Linked DNA regions of Homo sapiens: region 1 is linked to region 2. The links are contacts of gene promoters, found by promoter capture Hi-C in blood cells and fetal thymus (Javierre and others, 2016). All regions are on one chromosome and are shown on one strand. The core of a region is centred on a gene start or on the middle of the fragment in contact, and the rest is flanking DNA. Distances in the headings are between cores, read along the strand shown.

What was found. The method cuts DNA at HindIII sites, captures the fragments that hold promoters and counts their contacts. A CHiCAGO score of 5 or more calls a contact.
Region 1: a fragment that was not itself captured here is called in contact with the fragment with the promoter of NTN4 in region 2 in 1 of 17 cell types (endothelial precursors); the score reaches 5.9 in endothelial precursors.

The regions. Positions count from the first base shown.
Region 1 is chr12:95,673,552-95,677,994 of GRCh38, forward strand. The region is part of intron 7 of NTN4 (netrin 4); the gene reads right to left. It also overlaps the pseudogene PGAM1P5. Among named protein-coding and RNA genes, the nearest start is that of NTN4, 110 kb to the right of the region's middle. The HindIII fragment of the contact is 2,360 bases long and covers 929-3,288 here.
Region 2 is chr12:95,787,697-95,792,275 of GRCh38, forward strand. NTN4 (netrin 4) reads right to left here and starts at 3,068. Exons shown (of 10, transcript NM_021229.4): 1 at 2,559-3,068. The coding sequence starts at 2,613. The HindIII fragment of the contact is 5,039 bases long and covers 498-4,579 here.

The sequences.
Region 1 (4,443 bases), core at 859-3,358, 120 kb before region 2:
CCCTGACCCCAGAGGAGATGGCTCTAGAAGGTTGGGATCAATCCTGAATTTAGCTTAGGTGTTACATTTACTTTTATAAAAAAAAAAAAGTATAGTATATATAAATAATACAAAACCATAATCCTTCTCGGATCTCTTGTGGCAGTTGAAATAGTCCCACATGTGGTCATCAGAAAGTAAGCCATTCCTCATACTAATATGGGATAAGCTCCTTGACCTCAGAGGAGTAGGAGTGCTTCCTGCTGTGTGTTTTAGAATCCCTCTGCTGCCTTGTTTCATGGCAGTAAAATGCCTCTTGGTCCTGTCCAAGTGTGTCTTTCACTGACTGATTTCTGAATCATGTTCTAGTTGCTCGGCCACATGGGTCCAGTGCTCATTTGAGCATCACTGTACTAAATCCTTTCTCCAGGAATGAGTATAATAAAGGAGTTATGTGCAATTAAAAAAATTGGCCTGGTGTGGTAGTATGTGCCTGTAGTCCCAGCTACCCGTGGAGGGGAGCATTGGTGGCACTGAGGTGGGAGGATTGCTTGAGCCCAGGAGGTCAAGGCTGCAGTAAGCCATGATGGCACCACTGCACTCCAGCCTGGACAACAAAGTGAGACTCTGCCAAAAAAAAAAGAAAAGAAATTGTAGTAACCTAAGTGAATAGCCTATGGCCTTTGATAATTCCACAAAGCAGAAGAGTACAGTAACTACTGTGCTATAAAACCTAATGGAACTCCAAATGGCATATACTGTTCCTCAACACAATGCTTTTCTCTTTAACCCTTCAGCCTAGAAGAGCAGACATAGGTCTATTGTTTGATGACCTTTCTTTGGCTGCTTTCCAATACTTCTTTTTCATATGCTTAGAGCTCAAACAATATTTGTTGATCAGGCTTCAGCCCAGATGTGTTTTCTTAAAAGAAATCTGGAAGGGAAGAAAAGCTTGTTTAGTTATGCTAGGTTATTAGGACATTAAAAAAAAAAAGAGCATTGTTTACAGTTCTGTGGTACTAGTTAAGGCCAGTTTTGTTATTTAGGAAGTGAAATTTTACATCTGGTATAAGAAGTGGTAGAAATTAAGGGTGTTTTGTTGGTAAAGTATATTATACTCCTAGTTGAAAGCTGTTTTTATGGAAACTTATGGGAGGTATATAGGTAGGTAGATTGTTTTCAGTGCTTAGAACACTTGTTGAAAAAGGTGCTCAGAAGCACCATTCTATACCCAATGCAGGGAACTCAATAAAGTCTTCCTCAATCTGGCGTTCATCCAGATGAATTTCAGAGACTCTCTGGGGACATCACAGACCTAACAGCTGCTGTGGACATGAGAGTCTGCAGTCATTCTGGTGCCAGCACTTTATGTGCTTGGCTGGAATGCTGCCAACTCTCTAATAACATGCATGATGGGCTTAGTGAATGTCCTATAGTCCTAAAAACTGGATTATTACAGATTTGGTTTAGCAAACTTGGAGAATTATAAAAAGTCATTGTGTGCTTAGAAAAATAGAAGAACACCTTTAAAAGTGGCTATTAAAGTTAAAATCATAAAATTCCAGACTACATAGCATTAAGGCAAAAAAAATTCATAGTAAAGACTTGTTTTCTTTTTCAAATGCTGAAAAGATAAATATGATAACTTCATGTTGCCTTCTCTTTCGCACCTTCTTTCCTGTTGTGATTGAACATGAAGCCATTAGGAAAATTATCACGAGATTATGTTAAGTGAAAAAACCATGATACAGATGGGCAAATAACCTTGTTTCTCAGATTTAGGTTCTTGATTCTTGAAGGGTCCATATGTTCTCTATGAGAAGGTTTTAAAACTGTGATTTCTTTCTGATCTAAAATGTGGATTGATGGGTGGATAGAATTTAGGTGGCGGGTATGTGAATGCACAACTTCTAAAACTTTTCTGGATGTCTGAAATTTTTCATAATAAAATGTTGGGAAAATTATCACAGACATTCTCAATCAACACAACTTTGTGAATTCATACTTCAGCACATCCTCAGCTCCAAGCACATAGCAATATTAGATAAAGGACGGAAAAAAAGACATAGCCTGCATCAAAAACTAGATATTTATCTCTGTGGACTAGAAATGAATGTTTTCAATTTGTTGATACTTCTTGAATTTAAAAAAAATGTAAAGAAAGAAAAGAAATGAATGAATGTGCATTCGGGGGATAGGGCTTTGGGGTCCGCTTTCAGAATCAGGCAGCAGTGGTCAGGAGTTCAGATACAAAGGAGTTAATAGGACAAAAAAGAGATCACAGTCAGACTCACTTTTTAAAGACAGATTGGGTAAGGCTCTCCTTGCTAATGAAAGGAGGCTGGGAAAAAACAATAAACCAACCACGTACACAAAACTCCAAACTATTATTCATGGCCACTTGATGACATTCTTAAAAAGGGCTCTGCATTTCATCCAGCATCTAGTCCTGCAAATTATGTAGCTAGTCCTTAAGTGACCTAGAAATGAATCCAAGTTGCCCTCCTGGTTTTCAAAGAATAGATATAATACAATGAAATTAGATTAGAGATAATCAGTAAACAAATATTCTTTTTTGTTTTTTTGTTTTTGAGATGGAGTCTCCCTCTGTCACCCAGGCTGGAGTGCAGTAGCCTGATCTCACTTTACTGCAACCTCTGCCTTCCAGGTTCAAGTGATTCTCCTGCCTTAGCCTCCCAAGTAGCTGGGATCACAGGTACGCGCCACCACACCCAGCTAATTTTTTTGTATTTTTAAGTAGAGACGGGGTTTTGTCATGTTGGCCAGGCTGGTCTCCAACTCCTGACCTCAGGTGATCCACCCACTTCGGCCTCCCAAAGTGCTGGGATTGCAGGTGTGAGCCACTGTGCCCAGCCCCGGGTAAAAAAAAAAAATATTCTAAAAACCCTGATGTTTGAACAATTAAATATCCTAGACAACTCAATGGATTAAAGCGAAATTCTTAATGGAAATTAGAAAAACATTAGAACTTGAATGATAATGAAGATACTACATATAAAGGCCAATAGGATCCAGCTAAAAGATCTTATAAGGAAATGTATAACCTTAAGAGTACTTGCTAAAAATAAGAAAGACTAAAAGTAAGTGAGTTAATAATCACTGGACTCACAAAGGCAGAAAAGGACTAAAAAAGCAAACTTAGAGAAAACATAAAAAAAAAATAAAGATAAGAGCAGAATTAGTGAAATAAAGAAAAATTAAATAGGTTGGATCAAGTTAACCAAAAGTTAATCTCTGAGAGAAGCAAATTAAGATCAGTATAAGACAATAAGAAAAAAGGCACAGATAAGCTTAGGGACAAAAAGAAGATTAAGGACAGATTGAGTAAAGGTTAAATAAATTATGAGTGAATACCATGTATAACTCTATGCCAATACAATTTTTTAAAATTAAAATAATTGGTGGCTGGGCAAGGTGGCTCACGCCTGTAATCCCAGCACTTCGGGAGGCTGAGGTGGGTGGATCTTAAGGTCAGGAGATCTAGACCATCTTGGCTGACACTGTGAAACCCCATCTCTACTAAAAATACAAAAAATTAGCTGGGCATGGTGGCATGCGCCTGTAGTCCCAGCTACTTGGGAGGCTGAGAATTGCTTGAACCCGGGAGGCAGAGGTTGCAGTGAGCCGAGATTGCACCACTGCACTCCAGCCTGGGTGACAGAGTGAGACTCCAACTCAAAAAAAAAAAGAATCGGTAATTTTCTAGAAAACTTTGATTACCAACACCAAATCACAAATAAAACAAATTAATAACCATGACAGATATTGAATCAGTAATACTTTCGTCTACTCATAGACACTGTGTCTCAATGGTTTTATAGATAAATTCTAACAAAAATTCAAGTAACAGATGATTCTATTTTTATATAAATAATTGCAGAGAATAGAAAAAAAACGTAGTGGGTAAGGGGACCTCCTAACTTTCTCAAATATACAATGCAATACATTAAATTATAGGCCAATATCAGTTATAAACATCAATATGAAAATCCTAAGCAAGCAAATAAATAAATGAAAGATAAAAACCCTAGCAGATCAAATTCAGCAACGTATGAATAAAAATACATCACAGCAAATAAAACTTATCCTAAGACTAAAAGAATAGCTTGATAATAATTGCCATTCTGACAAACAACAGATGCTGGCAAGGCTGTAGAGAAATAGGAATGCATTTACACTGTTGGCAGGAGTGTAAACTAGTTCAACCATTGTGGAAGACAGTGTGGTGATTCCTCAAGGGTCTAGAACCAGAAATATCATTTGGCCCAGCAATCCCATTACTGGGTATACACCCAAAGGATTCTAAATCATTCTACTATAAAGACACCTGCACACGTATGTTTATTGCAGCACTATTTACAATAGCAAAGACTTGGAGCCAACCCAAATGACCATCAATGATAGACTGGATAAAGAAAATGTGACACATATACACCATGGAAT
Region 2 (4,579 bases), core at 1,818-4,317:
TTTCATGTTCAGATGTAAAATTCACATCACAGAAACAAACACTTTAGGCAGAGGGCAAGAGGAGGGAAAATAGAACCACCAGGGTGAAGATTATTGGCCTAAAACTTTTCAAGTACTTTGCCTTATAAATGTTTTCTGTATTTCAAATACATTGATGTGTTTTTGAAGTCATGACTATTGAAAAACCATAATGTTTTTAAGACCACCTAAGTTAGTCTTTCAAATTTAATGTGAGTCCTTCACATGATTTAACATGTTTATTATGAGAATGTATTTAGAAGGAAATGTGGAATTCTATTTTCTTTATATTTTTAAGCCAGGGAAGGGATAAATTCCCTAGGAAAAGCAATATGAGATATTTAATAAATATACAATGGGTCCTCATTTAGAGGGAGGCAAAGCTAGAGACCTTTGGAGTTCAGATGTGCACTATCAGTTTCTAACATTACATAAACATAACTAAGAAAAAAACTCTCTGAACTGCCAAATGGCAGAAAAGCTTATTTTACATGCTGTCTCTTCAGGGTTTCTACCTGTGACAGGTTATAGAGTAGTTAACTGTTTGCTTAACAGGAGAGTGTCTACAGTCTGGCAGCCACTAACAGCACCTTTAAATATTATCTGTGAACTACAAGACCTTCTTTAAAAAACACACTTTTCCTCCCAAAGGTCCAACAGACTTTAATGTTTTAAAATGACTTAAAATGATAAACATTATCCACTTATTAACATTCTGAGTACATACTATAATCCTTTGATTTGCGTTTGTCATTTTAATTGTGAATACCTTAAGCAAAAATCATCTATTTTAAAGGTTAAAACAGAGGGGGAAAGAGGGAAAAGGAAATCAACCCTTAAATTCTGGCTAATTGAATGTTTCTGCTGCTTAAGAAGCAGTACCTCTGAACTGTTGTCATAGTAAGGATTGGAGGAGGCCAAATGACAGCTTAGGCTGCAACAGAGACATTTCACACACTGACAATGGCCAACCCCACGAAGCCTTGCAACTAAAGGGCTTCCTTAGGCATTATTTTTTAAATGTCAAATTAAAGTGTGCATTATGCCTGGGTTCTGTTTGCCACTTTTCTCATTAGCTGGGGCAACAGTTGCTTGTGGCCAGAAGCACACAAACACACAATGTGCTATGACTCACCTGTAAAAAATTTCAAGGAAAATCATATACTGCCTGTACAAGTATTTTTGACTTGAAACACTTGCCTTGTGATGTTTATTTACAACCTTTCAATGGCTTGCATGTTTTTGCCATAATATGGTTTGAGAAGGAAAAGGTTTTTTTTAAAGCTCATATTTTAAGAGTGCAAGAATTAAAGTAAAATCTTAGGCCTTTAATAGGTCCCTGGGAAAAATATCCAATAATTTTAAATGCCCCTAAACTCCTAAGTCCAGAAAAGATTTGAGCCAGATAAAGAATCCATGGGGCAAAATACTTGGAGTCACTCAAGGGACTATTCAATGATACTAAGGATGCTCCTGTGACTTGGACTGGTTTGGGATGCAGACTGGAAAGCCTGGATTTTGCTGGGTGCCAGCGGCCCTCAGGGAAGAGTGGAAGCCCAAGGGAGGAGATGCGTGCTACAATGTTCTGTAGCCACCAGCGCATCCCTCTAGCCCAGGCGCCCCTTTCTGAAGCAGTCAAGATCCGCACGAGAGACTGGATGTCTGCAGACTCCCTCACATCTCTCCCCCTCACCTACAGGGCTGCGCTTACGCCTAACTGGAAACCAGGTGACCCGCAAGAGGGAGGGAGAGGAGCAGAAGGGGCTCCCGAATACAGAAACCACGAGCCAGGAGCCGGTGGCCTAGGGCAGCCCAAGAAAGCCAGGATGGGAGTGGGAGGGAGAGGGCATCTGCCGACGCCGACGCCGGTTGTCCAGTTACCGAGCCAGGGAGCAGACCCGCCTCCGACCTCCCGCAGAGTCTCTGCCAGGGTACCAATTCCCCAGGGGCGGCCAGCCAGCTCAATGCAAGCCCGGGGTGATCACCACCTATCGTCCAAGCCAGGAGTCCCACTGCGTTCCAGTCACTGCTCCGGGGAGAGGGCGCTCAGCCCTGCCCCAGGTGTCCTTACCTGGTTCTCTAGTACCCAGCACCAGGTCAGGGACACCAGCGATGGGCTTCTACCAGAGACCGGCCCCAGCCCACGCGCGCCCAGGGTCGCTGGGCCACCCCTCCTCATCATTCCTTAGGCCATGAAGTGCCGGGGGATGGCGAGCTGGGTCCTTTGTTCCCTCACCAAGTGGAAAAGCAGTTTTTTAACAAGCCAAACCAAGAAAGAAACCCCGGTCGCAGTATCCCCGGCAGGGCGCACCCAGGATAGCTGGTTATCCAAGCGCATGTGTATCCCAGTTGTAAAAATAAATCAATAGTATTTGAAACTGCGGAGCCCCGGGGAAAGGAGGCGGAACATGGCCACTCATTTCACCCTCGGGAGCAGCGCTCTGCGCTCGCAGCCCTGGCTCCCCTGCACCCCCGAGTCCCGAGATGGGTTAGAGAAGCAGCGAGGGAAGGGGTGGGGGCCCCGCCGCGTCACCACCCACCTGCGGCCACCACCGTGCAGCCCCAGAGCAGCAGCAGCCGCGCGCAGCTCCCCATGGCCGGGAGGAGCCGGGAGCAGCCGGGCCGGGCGGGTGCCGGAGGGAGCCGAGACCTCTGGGCTGCGGGATGAAGCGCCGCCGTCCTCGGGAGGGAACGGGGCCCTGGTTTCTTCCTCCTCCTGGGGCGCCGGGCTCGGTCAGCGGTCGCCGGCAGCTGGGAGCCAGGGGCCGGGACCGCGCGGGGAGGTGGGGTGACCCTCGCGCACCGGCCTGGCGGGTCCCGGGCACCTGGGGGGCGGCGGGAGCCCCGGGACCATAGCCGGCCTGGCTGCGCTGCCCCGCGGAGCGGCCCTGCGGGCTCGTCTGCCGCTAGCCCGGGGCTCGGCGCCCGCAGCCGCCGCTGAACTTTGCGAGACCTTTCACTTCCCGGCCGCCGCCGCCGCCTCCTCCTGGGCGTCCTCCTCCGCTTTTCCCACCTCTTCTGGCTGCCCCGGCTCCGTCCCGTCCTTCTCCACGGGCAGTTCCATGCGATGCATTTTTATTGCACCGACGCCGCGGCGCTCCGGTGCCAGCCCTCCTCCCCTCGCACCTCCACCCCTTCCTCCCGCCCGCCCCCCGCGCTTGACAGCCCGGGCGGCGCAGCCCGCGGGATCGGATCGCCGCTGCCGCTGCCGCCCGGGGGGGGGGTCCCCCGCGCCCCGACCGACGCCCCCGACGCCCGGCTGCCCGCTGGTCCCGGTCGCCTCAGCCTGGCCCCCGGCTGCCCTGGCGCCCCTCCTGGCCCGCGCCCTGCATCTCCCTAGTGACCCCCCTGGTGCCCTGCAGCACCCACAGGCCTCCCCTGGGAAGCAATCTCCCACCTTCTCCCGGAACATTCCTAAGAGCAGTAGACTCCCTCTAGATCAGGTCAGGGCATGCCAAGGGGCTTAAAAAACCGCGAAACAGGCTAGCGCCTACTTCCCACATCCCCCAGCGAAACAAGCCCTCCCTCCTCCTCCAGCCACCCCCTCTCGGGGAGTCCCACGACCCGGGGACGGAACACCCCAACCCAGCCCCGCGTCACCCGCACTGAGAGCGCGCCAACTGCTAAGCGGCGTTCGCCGCTTCTCTGCTGCCTTTTGCGGGGGTAGGGGGATGTCTCGGCTAAACAATCGCTGCCTACATGATCCGAAGGTGTGCCCACTTTGGTGTAAGAGGTATTGCCTAACTCAAACTCAAGGTGCTGAAAGAAAAGGGTCACAGGATTAGCTAGTCGGCAGTGTAAGAACATCGTTGTCCAGAGGCAGGGCAAGGGCACGACAAAGGGAACTCTTCGGTCCTTCCAAGCGTTCTCCCTTTATAGAGTATGCCGTGCTGTGAAACAGTGTTAGGAACTAACTTATGGGGAGCAATTTAGTAGCAACCACACGCAGCTAATTGCAGATAGGATTGCTCAGGGCTGGTGCTTCTGGAAAGAGATTAAATAGCAGCCGAGTCTGAGATTTTTGCAAGTTCTGTGAAAATATAATTCTACTTACACATCCAGGGAAACTGGCAAAAGTTAAGTCGACAGCAATTTTGTATTGCAGTGCTCATTTTGTTCCTTTGAATATTTTCCAGAAAATTAACTACGTTCCAGATACCATTTAGTCGTTGTGTCTGTTACAGATGAGGATAATTCAGAGCTTTGGGATACATGTAGATATTATTTACAATGACCCAGCCAGGAACATATAAGAAGTTTATATCTCCCAGGGGGATCTGGGTTGAGGTCAGCATAATCCATTTGGGCGACATTAAAATTATTCTTCTGGCCAACAGAGGAAAGTAGCAGAAGGTGTGGACAGCAATTCATGTAGCATCACCTGCTTTAGAAAATAAACGCTTTGAGTTCCCAAATACTGGCAATGGTGGGGCTTTCTTCATATCTCCTAATGGAGCCATTGAAACACCTCTCCAATTAATCTTTTTACCAAATAAATGATAGGAAACTATAACAGCCAAAGGTTCTTAGCATAAATGTTAACTTAATAGCCAAGGCAAAT